Regions from separate parts of the Homo sapiens genome. Here region 1 is linked to region 2. The links are contacts of gene promoters, found by promoter capture Hi-C in human tissues and cell types (Jung and others, 2019). All regions are on one chromosome and are shown on one strand. The core of a region is centred on a gene start or on the middle of the fragment in contact, and the rest is flanking DNA. Distances in the headings are between cores, read along the strand shown.

Region 1 (2,700 bases), core at 120-2,619, 69 kb after region 2:
TATACTTCTCAGCTAATAACTTAGGTGCCCTTTTCTCACAAAGGCTGAGGCAGATGTGATGCGTTCCTTAGGCCACCAGAATGTGGGTTTGAGGATTCATCTTGAAACCAAACAAATTTTGATAATTACAGAGCAAGTAGAGCTGCTTACATTTTGCTCTGTTGTGTCAAAGGTCACTTAGTCCCTAAGTCTTTCAAAGAAAAGCCTGGACAAGTTACTGAGCATGACCTCCTGGGCTGGTTGCCCAATAAATTTGCTTTAGCATTAGGTTATCCTGTAGTTTAGCAAAAGGGAGTCATCCAAGAATAGACGCTAAAAGCCTTTTGATGGGAATAGGAAATAGGGAATCTGATTTCAGGTAAGCCTATGGGAATTTCCTATAGCAAGTTAGGTCCTAGGAGTGACACATCATGGTGGGCATTTTGCCCAGGCTTTTCAGATTGCCTTGTAAAAAGTCTCAGGAGGCTAAACTCAGTTATCAGCCTCTGCAACCATAAAATTTCAGGGACACATTTCCCTCATCAAGCACCCTTCCAAGGACACTGGTGAGCATAACAAGGTCTCCCTTCAATGAGTAATCAATACCACTGCATTTGGATCACAAAGAACTCAGACAGTTGCTCTTTTCAAATCTTTGTTTGCAGCACATAACTCTTCACCACCTGCAAGTCTCTATCTTTATATTCAAATGGCTAAAACCTACACACTCTACACCAGAATTTTCCAGTGGAATTTTCTGTACTAATAGAAATATTCTATTCTGCACTGTCCAAAATACTAGCCACTAGCTCTATGTGCTACTGAGCACTTGAAACATGGCTACTGTGACTGAGGAACTGCATTTTAATTGGATTTCATTTTTTGCTTACTTTTACTTTAGTTTCAGGGGTAGATGTGCAGGTTGGTTATATAGGCAAATTGTGTGTCATGGGAGTTTGGTGTACAGATGATTTTGTCACCCAGATAATGAGCATGGAACCTGACAAGTAGTTTTTTTATCCTCATCCTCCTCCCACTCTCCACCCTCAGGTAGCCCCAGGTGTCTCTTGTTCTCTTCTTTGTGTCCATATGTACTCAGTGTTTAACTCCCCCTAATAAGTGAAAACATGTGGTGTGTGGTTTTCTCTTCCTGTGTTAGTTCACTTAGGAAAATGACCTCCTGTTCTAGCCATGTTCCTGCAAAGGATAGTATCTCATTCTTTTTCATGGCTGCATAGTATTCTGCGGTGTATATGTACATTTTCTTTATCCAGTTTACTGTTAAGAGTATTAATGTTGATTCTATTTCTTTGCTGTCATGAATAGTGCTGCGATGAAGATACATGTGCATGTGTCTTTATGGTAGCACAATTTATATTCCTTAGGTTATATACCCAATAATGGGATTGCTGGGTCAAACGGTAGTTCTGTTTTTTTTGTTTTTTGTTTTGTTGTTGTTGTTGTTGTTGTTTTTTGAGACAGAGTCTCTGTCACCAGGCTGGACTGCAGTGGCACAATCTCAGCTCACTGCAACCTCCGCCTCCCAGGTTCAAGCGATTCTCCTGCTTCAGCTTCCCGAGTAGCTGGGACTACAGGTGCGTGCCACCATGCCCAGCTAATTTTTGTATTTTTAATAGAGACCGTGTTTCACCATGTTGGCCAGGATGGTCTTAATCTCTTGACCTCGTGATCTGCCCGCCTCGGCCTCCCAAAGTGCTGGGATTACAAACATGAGCCACCACGCCCAGCCTCTGCTTTAAGTTCTTTGAGAAATTGCCAAACTGCTTTCCACAGTGGATAAACTAATTTAAATTCCCACCAGCAGTGTATAGGTGTTCCCTTTTCTCCACAACCTTGCCAGCATCTGTTATTTTTTGACTTTTTAATAACGGTCATTCTGACTAGGATGGGATGGTATCTCACTGTGGTTTTGACTTGCATTTCTCTAATGATTAGAGATGTTGAGCATTTTTTCATTTGCTTGTTGGCAGCATGTATGTCTTCTTTTGAATATTATCTCTTGATGTCCTTTGCCCTCTTTTTAATGGGGTCATTTGTTTTTCACGTGTTAATTTGTTTAAGTTCCTTATAGCGAATTTCATCTTGATTCATTTAAGTTCTCACATGCTATTAGTGGATACTACTGGACAGCTCAGCTTTACACAATTGAAATATATATAAACACAAAAGAGAACAAGTGAAGTAATACTTTAAGTATTCTAAAATTATAAAAATAATATATTGTCAATAAAGATAAATTTAAAAATAGACACATGTAAGAGGGAAATGCTAAAAACACTCCTATCTCAACATCTAAATGTAAGCACTATTGACATTGTGACATATGCTCTTTCAGTTATTTCTCTTCCATTGTATGTTAGAAACGAAAATAGTGCAAGACAGCCAATATATCTTCAGAATGATCAAGGGAACATGAAAACCCCAGATGAACTCGGTTTAAATGGATTATAATCGGTATGCCAGGATCTGCCCCTTGCACAGATGACAGGCCAGGTGGCTGCCCTGTAGGGTGAATGACCACTCACGTCTGCGCATAAATCATTTCCCCATAAACTATCTTGATGCCCTATGTTCCCGTAGTATTTAGAATGGTGTACATCTGTTAAAAGCTAAATATTATGTGCAGCACTTCACATTTCAGCTTTTAGCATTTTATGGGGGCACTATCTAGACTGTCAAACCCAAGGCTGGAGCATTTAA
Region 2 (2,700 bases), core at 115-2,614:
AAGATCTATCCTAGGTTATTGAGGAGAAGTTAGAAGTGTCTGGTGAATCCTTAACCTCTGTGGAGTGATGATGTCATCCATGAGAGACCCAGCCTTTCCCACAAGTGTCATTTGCTGTCCCTGACAGGGTGGATTGGAGGGATCATCTTGTCTATTCATGTCAACCATCTGACACTAACTCAGCTGGCTGGAGAGTGGATTTGAAAATTTAAAAAGACTGATGGTGAAAATGGCTGGGAGGTAGATAGTTTAGTTTGAATGAGTGCCCAGCAAGTGAAATGTGACACTTTTCCCTGACTGTCTCCAGATGTCCCTGGACCATAAAAAGGAAAGAGTCAAGAATATATTTATTTTTCCCACAATGAATGAGCCAGAGATCCAGACAAACTTAGGCTTAAACAAAGTGAAAAAAGTGTCCCACCAGTGGTACTATGGTAGAGAAAGCTCCAGGCTAACTTAAAGCTACTCTCAGCTGAAATCCCCCTTGTAGCTGACTCAGCCTTGCTCAGATGGGTGTTTTGAATTAGACAAAATCTAGCATACTCTAAAAAACACAGTGGCTAGAAGTTTAAGCATGTAAGTTTCAGAATGACAGCTCCAAGGAATATGCATTCTTGACAGTCTTCCATAGTCCTCTAAAAATCAATAGTGAATCCAAGTTAACCCACCCTTATGCATCACTATTATGTCAGAGCTTCCCCGGGTCCTTCACCAGCCCACCATTCTTCCTGGAATGCAAATGCACAGAAGGTCACAGAATATGCAACTCATGAGCTGGACGGACTCACCTTGCTGTCGCCGGTCCTCCTGCAGCTTCAGTTTACAGGTGTGCAAACTGCCAGGCAGGTGGCTGCTGCCTTTTCTTGGTATGGTAGTCATGGTCCTAGCAGTATGGCTGTGACTCAAGGATCACTAGGGCACCTCCTTCTCTGGCCAGTCACCTAAAGTGGCCTTCACCAGACACCCAGAAATACATAGATTCATGCAGATCTTGTCTTTGCATGTACAACATATACTCCTCTACTAAACTTCCAAGCTTTTTCCAGTCATGATTCTTGAAATAAATAATCACCAATGTTACTTCTCCTAAATATAAAGATGCCAATTCATTTGGTTAAAAACACAACTTAATTCCTTCATTTCAAAACAAATTGAAACTAAACCTCCTTATAGAGTAAAATTCTACAAATTAACTATTTCTAACAGATTACACTTTTGTCATTTTTAAATTCCTTTTGGCGACATGAAATCCAATGCCTCCAGTATTTAGAGAAGGCTGCTAAAATAATACAGACACAAAGAAAAGAAAAAGTGCTGCTGAGTTAAGTCAAGTGATTTCTAAGCCTGATCTGAGTTACCCTCTGTGACAGCTGAAAGTGTACAGTTCTTAAGGGACTCTGGAAGGAGGAGGAGCAAAGTGGGCTAGGATGATTAGCATAAAGAGGCAGGCAAGACGGGCATTGGAGCTGCTTTGAATAATAGTGAACAAAGCACAGATTCTAAAGATGCCCTGCCCTTATGTTACAGTAACTGAGTACCTGATTTCTGCTACTTTGTTTGTAATTAAAATGCAAGCTGAAAGCAGGAGTTTATACTGCAAGGACATTCATTTGTGCATGTGAAATCTAAAAGGTATAAATGGAACTGGTAATGAGCTCATGGAAATGTACTGCTGGAACTTTCAATTTCTGTAAACACCTCCTAGTCTTCGGAAGGGAGCAGTTAGAGGGCAGCCTTCCTGCCAAGGCAACTATTTGGAGTTCTGGAAGAAAAATAAACACACAAAACATTATCTTTCCAGAGTCCTATTTCTGTTTCCCACTTAGAGTTCTTATTGCTACTTCTAGGTCATAGGAGAAAGTAATTTCCAGTTTTACTCGTTGGCTATTTCCTTACTGTTTGGAAACATAAACCCCAAACACCATTAATTTAACTTGAGAGCTTGCCATAACTGAAGTCATAATGAATGCTGGTAGGTCCTGCCCTTCAAGAGTCACAGCTCTTCGCAGATTCAGAAAGAAGGTAGTGGGCAGGACTAAGGAGAAAGGCAGAGCTGTTTAGCCTCGAAGTCTGGACTCTGCAGCTTCTTATGTGCATTTGGAAATTGGTGTTAAACTTGACACTGTAATGAATTTACCTCCTAACCAGATCTGGGTGGCTGCCCTCATTTTACTTTGAGGCAATTAACAATTCCCCAAGTATAGTCTGGTTTATGAAAATTTTTATGAAGTAGGTGATTGATCTTTTATAATTCTTGAATGCTTTAATTGTTTCAGTAGTCTATCTACTGCAGTTTTAGGCTAATCACAGTGTAACAGATGACAGAAGTGTTGTGCTACTTTGAAAGAGAGTCTTGTTATTGGAGAGTCATAGTTTCTACTTTAAATGTCTGCTATTCATCTCATCTTCCACAAAAGCCATGGTGGAGAGACAAGGTGATTTTTCCTGAATATGTAAAGTTATTGTTATTCTATCAAGTTATGTACCTCACTAATAAGCATATTATTATACAGGTAAGTTAAATAACCTACAAAACTGTAAGCCAGCCCTTTTGAGAAATACATTTAAAATGTTTTATGATGAAAAAATTTAAAAATACATGAATAGGAGAGAATAGCACAATAAGCCCTGCATACTCATCACTTGGCTTCAATATTATCAACTCATAGACAATCGTGTCTTAAAACTATGTGTTTCATT

The links. Contacts are between HindIII fragments. The study calls those that stand out against the background at their distance.
Region 1: a fragment that was not itself captured here is called in contact with the fragment with the promoter of RANBP3L in region 2 in 2 of the 25 tissues and cell types used here (dorsolateral prefrontal cortex and liver).

What each region holds. Positions count from the first base shown.
Region 1 is chr5:36,369,089-36,371,788 of GRCh38, forward strand. No RefSeq gene overlaps it. Among named protein-coding and RNA genes, the nearest start is that of RANBP3L, 69 kb to the left of the region's middle. The HindIII fragment of the contact is 7,235 bases long and covers 1-2,700 here.
Region 2 is chr5:36,300,538-36,303,237 of GRCh38, forward strand. It overlaps RANBP3L (RAN binding protein 3 like), which reads right to left and starts at 1,365. Exons shown (of 14, transcript NM_145000.5): 1 at 789-1,365. The coding sequence starts at 879. The region is part of intron 1 of LOC124900962 (a long non-coding RNA gene); the gene reads left to right. The HindIII fragment of the contact is 10,640 bases long and covers 1-2,700 here.